Linked DNA regions of Homo sapiens: region 1 is linked to region 2. Evidence: promoter capture Hi-C in 16 types of primary human blood cells and fetal thymus (Javierre and others, 2016). All regions are on one chromosome and are shown on one strand. The core of a region is centred on a gene start or on the middle of the fragment in contact, and the rest is flanking DNA. Distances in the headings are between cores, read along the strand shown.

Region 1 (4,824 bases), core at 1,562-4,061, 250 kb before region 2:
TTAAACCATGTAACTGTATTATGTTTTAAAATACCATGGTTTTCTTTGTATATTTCTTTTTTGTCTTTTATGTTTTCCAAGACGACATAGTAAGGCCAGAGACAGTGATGAAGAGAATGACCCAGACGATGAGGATGCTGTCGTTAATGCAGTGGGGTGTCTTGGACCTTTTAGTGGGTTCCTGGCTCCTGAACTGCAGAAGTACCAAAAACAAATTAAAGGTAAAGAGGTGGCTCTTGATTTAGATTATCATGATGTATTGGTTTACTACAATAAGAGTGATATTGTGTCCTATAGATGCCCCAGTAACTTTCTGAACTGGTTACAACTATTAAAAGTCTTTATTAGGCTAGTCATGGTGGGTCATGCCTGTAAGCCCAGCACTTTAGGAGGCTGAGACAGCATGATCATTTGAAGCCAGGTTTTCAAGACTAGCCTGAGCAACATAGGGAGACCCAGTCTCTACCAAACAACAACAACAACATTAAAAAGTCATTACTAGGCTGGGTGTGGTGGCTCACGCTTGTAATCCCAGCACTTTGGGAGGCTGAGGCAGATGCATCATGAGGTCAGGAGTTTGAGAGCAGCCTGGCCAATATGGTGAAACCCCGTCTCTACTAAAAATACAAAAATTAGCTGTGGTGGTGCGTGCCTGTAGTCCCAGCTGCTTGGGAGGCTGAGGCAGGAGAATCGCTTGAACCCAGGAGGCAGAGGTTGCAGTGAGCCGAGATCATGCCACTGCGCTCCAGTCTGGGCAACAGAACAAGACTCCATCTCAAAAAAAAAAAAAAATTGTTACTAAAAGTATCTTCTCTGTTACTTTATCTTTTTATTATGTAATGGTTTTCCTCTGTATTATGTGTTGCATGCGTAGTACACATTTCTTTTTCTCTGTGGTGACTTTTGCTCCCATGCATTGGATTCAACTTTGTATGCTAAGTTCCTTAGCACAGACCCTGGCATATAGTAGATGCTTAATATACTCCATCTGAGTTTAATTTATTCCAGACTGGCTTCTCTTCCAATAGGATTACCCTTTAAATCAAAACATTATGGTGACCTCTACTTGAATTTCTTGAGTGACAAGAAACTTATTATTTCACAAGACACTTTGCTTGATTCTTCCCCTTAGTCCATGGTTTCTGTTTACAAAGAGATAACTTCCACCTACCCGTTCTACTAATAGTTCTTCTCTTTGCTTTTTTTTTCTATTTGAAGGCATCACTGTTTATTAACTGACCAGATTACAGAAATAATCATGGTAGACCCCTTAGTTCATCCTTCTAATAAGCCTGTAGCTCTTCTCTTCCCTATTGCCAGCATTTCTACCTTCCACAAAATAGGAGGTCTTTTTCTTCATTCCACCTTGTGGAGAGGATAATCTGAAGGGTCACAGGAAGTTATTGGCTTCTTTGAAGCCTTTTCCAACAGTATAGATCTCATGAATCAGATCCTCCATGCAGATGATATCATATTTACCAAGAGATTGAGCAATCAAAGTGTTATCTGTCATGGCAATTTGCTTCTTTTCGATTTTGCTATAATGACACTTGTAGATGAGTTCATTTACTTACTTTAGGTTTGGGTACCGCCATGAAATGTATGGTTCTCCAATCCTCACCATGTTAATTGAAGCCTTGCTGAGCTTAACAAAGATTCCATTGAAGATCTGACAAAGGTGAAGAAACTCCACCACCTTTCAGACCTTTGGGCTCACACCATTGATACCTCTGATCCTTAGGGAAAATGACAGTTTGGGTTCTGTAAGAACATAGAAGTTGCCAGCTTTTCTTGCCCTCCTAGCCATTTGAATCTCAGTTCTGTTCATCTGCCTGTATTCCTTGTGACTGTGTTTAGCTTTTTCATAGATAAGCTTCCTCCTTGCCTTTTGAAGCATCTTTTCGGCAAACTTCTTTCTCAGGTGCTTGATCTTCAGCTCTGCAAAATTCCTTTGCTTTTTCTTAAGGGCTTCTGGCATAGCAGGAACCTTCTTTTTCTTCTCTTCGACACCCTCCATGGTTCCAGCTGGAAAAGAGGATTCTTCCCTTTGGAAAAAACCAGAACAAGTCTACTTACTCCCTCTTCTACCTGACATCTCTTCAAATCTTTGAGGACAGCTATCATGTCCTCCAAAGCTTTCTCAAAGGCCCCAGTTCAGAATTTCTTTAAGCATGTCTCTTAAGTTATGACTTCTGGACCTCCTAATATTCTATTAATTTACCTCTAGATATCCTGTAATTTGGTAATGTTCCCCTTAAAATGTTGTGCTCTGAATCACATGCATGTTTTATTTCATTTTTTTTTTTCTAAACAGAATAGAATTCTGTGGTCTGGAATTATCAATGTTATGCACTGTTTTAAAGTTTGTGGTTCTCTACGTCCTTTCTTGTCTTGGGTGGAAGCTTTTCTTTTAGGATATTTATTCTACCTCTTCTAGTTTGAAGACCATTCTCCTTGTTCAAAGATATTAGAAATATGCTGAAAGAGGACAGAAACTGAATAGATGTCAGGCACCTCTGTGTTCTCTTTGCCATCTGCTAACTTTTTACTACCTTCTTGAAGTCATGGGGCTATCTTCTCTTTTTTTGGTTCTTATTTGGAAGATAGGAGCAGTGGCAGCAGCTGCTGCTACTTCTAACTTTTGGTGGTGATCTTTTGGAGTATTTCCTGCAAGCCTCAGCTTGTTTGAGTTTTAACCTTTTTAATGGCTGGGCTCATACTGTTTTGTGAGTATGTCTTTGGTATGTGCTCTTCTGTCATCCTTTTAAAGGCTTTTTAAAAATCTGAACCCAACAAGAGTCTTCTTGATTTCTGCAATGCCTTCTACCCCCTTTCTTATTGCCTGAGTTCCAGCTTTTGATTTCTAGCCATAGGATCAATATGTATTTTAATGGTAAAGTTTTTGAATCTGCGTTTCTGTAGCCTGGGTCTATGTTTCATTTTTTTTTCTCTGTTTTTCTTTCTGTGCATTTTTGTGCTCTAGGATGACATGATCACTTTCTCCTAAATTTCATCATTAGTCTTTCTTGTTGATTTTGCTCTGATTAGCAGTTTCTCTTTTAATTTTCTTCTCCTTACAGAAATGATTACAGTAAAAAAATGAATTTCTGAGATGTTTAGCCTTTGTCTGAATAACACTCTCAGCAGATGTTAGGATAGTTGGAGTCTCTCAGTCTTTTTTTGACTCTGGCTCCCATGTCAGTTTTACAAATTGTGCTGGAGAAGCTTGCTGTCTCCCGCTTTGGCCTGTGTAGTCTGTGGGTTACTCCCACCTAGTATTGTTTCTCTTTTTTGGAGGTCATCTCAATTTTATTTAAGAGACAAATCTGCTAGTTGTAGCTATCACAGGAGCAGACACCACATCCGATATAACAACAGAGTGGACAGGAAATGTTTGTTAAATGAACAAAGCATTCATTCTAGTGATACAGTGGTCTGAAGTCTTGATAATTTTATAAATTGTGTTACTACCTTTAATGTAAGAAGAATGCACTTTTAATGACTGTCTAAACTCTACAAACCAATTCTGTATAAATCCTCATGCCGTTGTGTGGAAATCTGTACAGTGATTTTAGAAATTAGGAGTTATATCTTTCTAAGGAAATCTTAGACAATGGCAGTGATTTTCATCTGGAAGCAGTTGATGTTATGTCTATATAGCTAACAAACTGGTAACAAAATCAAACTCTGAACCCATATAGCTCATGTCAGACCCACAGTTAGGTTAATAAGAAAATGCAGAAATATTTTCAGGGGCACATCAAAATAAGCACTAGACAAACTCTAGTATGCGTTTTTTTCTGTGGTTTAGAATTTCATGGAGGTTAAGATACCGCACTGAGTTGTAGTGTTATCAATTTCCATTTACTCCTGTTCCCCTCCACCGACCATCTCCTTATGTCTCATCCTTCGAGCGCAGAGCCAAATGAGGAGCAGAGTCTGAGATCTAATAACATTGCAGAGCTGAGTCCAGGAGCAATCAATTCCTGTCGAAGTGAATACCATGCAGCTTTTAACAGTATGATGATGGAACGCATGACCACAGATATCAATGCACTGAAGCGGCAGTACTCTCGAATTAAAAAGAAGCAACAGCAGCAGGTTCATCAGGTGTACATCAGGGCAGGTAATGTGATTCTTCATTTGAATCAATTTCAGCTCTATCTCAACTTGTAAAATGAAGAACAAATAATCCTAGGAAGGCCTTGGAATTACTAACTGTAGCTCAGTATCCATCAACACAGCTGGCATGACATAATAGCATATTTAGCATCTCATTTTAAATTTTATTTTATCAGGCTCTAAAGAAGAAAAAGACTGCAGGTTCTTTTTAGGCCCCAAGGACCAGGCAGTTGATGGTATTAAACACGTCTCTACTGTGTGTGCTGTGGAGAAGGGTTTACAAATGATTAAAATGTTGCAAAGCCATGCAATCCTTGGACTTGAGAAATTTTGGAGCATAAATTTTATGCATCTGAATATAGAATCATCTGTGCACTAGTAAATTAAGCTGTATACTAGTCATTTAGGTGATATTATAACAGATGTTGTATCAGAGAAACTGGGAAAAAAAACATTAAAAACCTGTGCCTTGCTGATGGCAAGTATCTTGGGAATATACTAAGAAGAACACAATTATAATGCAATTGGAAATGCTCTTTTCCAAGGATTGCCAAGCTTTTTTCTTTTTAATTCCAAAAATCCCAGTGAACAGTCTGCTTTATTGTTTAATATATGCTGATTTGGGAGTTGTTTTTTCTTGCTTGAAGTGAATATCTTAATGAAAATGGTGCCTGTCCAGAATTAACTGAAATATAAATTTGA
Region 2 (4,240 bases), core at 1,099-3,598:
GATGGAAGGGTGCAGTTCAAACTGCCTTTTATTGATTCTTACGAACCCATAAAGGTATAGGTTAAAAAATGTCTTTTCAAAAATATAGAATTAATTGGCCACTTAGTTAATGACCATCTGATGAGCGGTCAGCCATAAGTAAACAGATTCAGCTGAAAAGGAGAAAATGAAAGGCCATTCGTTGGTTTATTACTGATTTCACAATATTCCCAACTTAATTGTTTATGAAGTATCTATGAAGAGGGACTTGTAGGGAGAAAAGGAATAATCTCCCTATAGAGCAATGGAAACCTCGATGAACCTATCTGCAAAATGGGGGTATTAACAATAGATGACTTTCCTGTTATAAACCTCAGTGAATCCAAAACCTCAATTTTTTTTAACCACATAGCAATGGAAGTGTTGAAGGTTCTAGATTTGATCTATTTCAGAAGAAGAAGAAAAAGAGAACAGACTTGAAGGGAAAAAGACAGCTAAAAAGGTCATGTCTATACCACAACAGGTAATTAGAGGGAAACAAAGTGGTTTCTCAATTCAAAATAGTTATTTTTTATAAAGTGTTTTCGGTATCACATTCTTCTTGAAAATAATCATTTAAGGAACTTTAGAATAAAAGACCGAAAAATGTGGTTTTAATTATAATTATAATGATTTTCATAGTAGACACATTCTACCAACTAATAAGCTGAAGAATGCATTGCTTACCATTTGTCCTCTAGAGTAAATTCTCCAATTGTACAAAAGAAATTAAATTTACATAAGCATTTTATTCTTTCTTTCTAAAATTAGAAGCCATAAAAATGTACAAAAGGTAACATATAAAAGATGCTAATGTGCTAAGGAATAAAAGGAATGCTTCTTCATAAAAAATAGATTCCAGTTTTCTTTTCCATATGAAAGCATTTAAAATGGTAACTTGAAAACATAGGCTGCAATATTTTATAACGTTCTTACATGACACCTTTTGGGTCTAACTTCTACCAGAAATATGCAACATTCACGTTCCAGTGAATAACATTCAACATACTGACTTTTTAAAAGTGCACAATGTCAAAAATACTTACAAACTTTAAAATTTGTTGTAAAGTATGAAGAATGTCACAAGTGATTAGAAACTACTATGCAAAAAGAGTCCTTTAAGTATGTTAAATTTTAATGTCAATGATCACAGAAACACAGTGATGTTGGTATTGGAGGTCTTTATATTTCCAGCAGCCTCAGGACACTGAGTCTTATCAAAATAATGGGCTTAGGCACAAGGCTTGTTCTTTTCTTTTGAAGATCATTAATTGATATGGCAACTTGAAATAAATGGAAATTAATTCTTTATTTGCTTTGGCAATCAGATGAGAAATTTCTCTTAATAACTGTAAAATGTACCAGGCTACACACTATACAGTACTATTTCCACCTGCCATAAGGCAGTGGAAATATTAAAGGGTAATTTTCTCAGAACTTACCTGCCCTGCAGCTTGCCAGGTAAAATTCATGGAATGGATATTGACAGGAATAGCTGGCATTCTCTGTTGTGCTTTTCTGAAATCATGTGTAAAAGGTGCCATTTTCCCCTCTGAAACAATCAGGATATCTTCTTCAAATCCTGGTTTTTAAAATAATAAAACGATCAAACCAGGTAGACTTGAAATCATCTAAATCAGAAGTTTCAAGCAAAAAGAAAACCAAAGAATTAGTGTGGGTCATTTCTGTTCACAAGCATCTGCCTTCAGTACCATCAACGCTACTAAGATTAATTTTTCTCTGTGGATGATGAGAATGATGCCAACAGACCCATGCTTTCAGGGAAAAGGGATGGACATGGAGTTAACCGACGCAAAAAAATGCCGGGTGCACCTAAAAACGCAGGGCTATAAAAATTAACAACAGCATGATCAGAACACTAGATCAGCTTTGGTTTCTTAAAAGAGAAGTTTATAAGCTTTCAGATGGAAAATATCTAATTAAAAGAGGGGAACACTCTTTTGTGGAAATTAAGTTTTAAAACACAAGAAACGCAGGTATCCCTCTTTCTTGAAGAGTGGAGAGAGGAGGACATAGGCAGGGGAAGGCGCTGGAGGCGGGGGCCTTACCTATGAGTACTCTTGCCTGGTGAGCATCGATCCATAGGTACAGGCTCTCCTCCTGCGGCGGCCCGGCCTCCGCCCGCAGTGCCAGCAGGCACAGGAGGATGCTCCAGAGCCAGAGCGCGGCGGCAGGGAAGGCGCTCCTCCGGGCCATGCTGCTCAGGACCTCCTCGCTGCCGGGAAAACTCCTCGTGCCGCACCTACGCAACCTGGCGCCGTCAGATACTCTGCTGCGCTGCAGCTCCCTCAGCCAGGGCTGTTCCCGTTTAGACGGCTGGGCGCGTCGCCTCCCGGCCTGGGTGCCAAGGAGCCTGCGAGAGCAGGAGGAGGGGGCAGGCAGGACGCGGGAGGAGGAGGGGGGGACCAGCGGGCGCGAGTCGCGCAAGAAGATGGGGCGCGGGCGGGAGTGGGGGCGGCAGAGACGTAAGACTGGCAAAGCTGGCGAGGCCAGCAGTCAGCGGGGCAAATAGAGCGAGAACAGAAGAGCGGGAAGGGCTGGCGCGAGCGAGGTGCGAGCGAGGAGTGGGGCCCGCGAGGCCTGGGCGGCCGCCACTTGGGGGCGCTGTGGGGCCCCCCCGGGGGCGGGGCCGCGAGGGACCCCCGAGGCTGCATTCACAGTGCGGTGCGCCCAGTGGAGCGCCCGCGAAGTGGGCGTGTAGGGCTGGCGGACCCGGAGAAGGGCACTCAGAGACCCCTGGGACATCACTCGCCACCTCCTCGGGCCAAGGGAGGCTTCGGGGGAGGGAAATGGGGAGAGCAGACAACGCTGGGCTTGACTGAGTGCTGATGATGGTGATGGTGATGGTGATGATGATGATGATGATGATGATGAGGTGATGACTCCTGTTCCTCCTCCGGCGCTCACTGAAGGCGCAAATTGCCCTTCGTCTCCCTTTCAGCCAGTAGGATTCCTCTCTCCGCCAACCCTATGCGCTCCGTTCTGCGATAGGCTGGCACTTTGCGCGCTCCCAAGCAGTTAAAACTCGAGGCTCGACTGTCCGATGGTGCCGATGGCAGGCGCTGGCCTTGGCTCGAGGCGCAGGGCGTCCAGCTGGTACTTGCCCGACACCCAGCATTTGGGGATTCCCGTCTGTCTCCCTGATAACCCGGCAGTGCCCGGAAGAGTGCCCTGGGCCCTGGACGATAGCTGTACCTGACCCTCCGGGGTAGGGCTCCTCTAACATCGTGGATATCTTCACGTTTGCTGATATTTTTTAAAAGTTGCTGAATTCGGCCGGGCGCGATGGCTCACGCCTGTAATCCCTGCACTTTGGGAGGCCAAGGCGGGCGGATCACCTGAGGTCAGGAGTTCGAGACCAGCTTGGCCAGCGTGGTGAAACCCCGTCTCTACTAAAAATGCAAAAATTAGCTGGGCATGGTGGCGGGGGCCTGTAGTCCTAGCTACCCGGGAGGCTGAGGCAGGAGAATCACTTGAACCGGGAGGCGGAGGTTGCATTAAGCCAAGATCGTGGCACTGCACTCCAGCCTGGGCGATAGAGCGAGACTCCGTCTCAAAAAATATATAAATAAATAAATAAAATAATTTTTTAAAAGTTGCCGAATTCACAGGTGCGTGGGGGCAAAACCAAGGCTCTGGCCTCGTCTGTGAGAAGCATGCTTGGCCGGCAGTGGGCTGCAGCATAACCTATCCACCTGGCCCAGCAGAAAGAACTGATTTTTGCCTCCTGCCTAATTCCTCGGATGCACAAAGAAAACGGAAGCAAAAGGGTTTTGTTTTGTTTTGTTTTTAATTAAAAAACTTAGCCTTCGGACTCATAAAAGGTTCATTTACTTGTGTTTGTTCTTTAGTACCCGAAGCTGTGACAAATGCCTCAAGGATCAAATGTCTGGGGCTGGGCGTGGTGTTTCAATCAGTCCTTTATAGAGTAGCAGATGCCTCAAGAGGGAAAAACAAACAGAAACAACAGAAGAGATGGTGGACATGTGCAGGCATCAAGTTAAATCAGTGTTAGGTTCTGAGAATATAGATTTCCAATGAGGAAATATTTGCAGCTATACAACCAACCAATAGAAAAAAAAAAAAGGAAAAAAGGAATTAGACAAGAAGTCTATGACTGATTTGAACTTGCAGTGTCTTAATTTTTAAAGTACTTTTATTTTAAGTGCTTACTTAATCCTCACAACTCTTAAGTAGGTAC

What was found. Contacts are between HindIII fragments. The CHiCAGO score rates a contact against its expected background, and 5 or more counts as called.
Region 1: a fragment that was not itself captured here is called in contact with the fragment with the promoter of WIF1 in region 2 in 1 of 17 cell types (endothelial precursors); the score reaches 6.2 in endothelial precursors.

What each region holds. Positions count from the first base shown.
Region 1 is chr12:64,866,683-64,871,506 of GRCh38, forward strand. It overlaps TBC1D30 (TBC1 domain family member 30), which reads left to right. Exons shown (of 12, transcript NM_015279.2): 10 at 82-221; 11 at 3,920-4,126. It also overlaps the pseudogene RPL7P39. Among named protein-coding and RNA genes, the nearest start is that of LINC02389, 15 kb to the right of the region's middle. The HindIII fragment of the contact is 823 bases long and covers 2,401-3,223 here.
Region 2 is chr12:65,118,957-65,123,196 of GRCh38, forward strand. It overlaps WIF1 (Wnt inhibitory factor 1), which reads right to left and starts at 2,349. Exons shown (of 10, transcript NM_007191.5): 1 at 2,088-2,349; 2 at 1,461-1,600. The coding sequence starts at 2,235. RefSeq lists a silencer at 2,510-2,669. The HindIII fragment of the contact is 2,494 bases long and covers 1,935-4,240 here.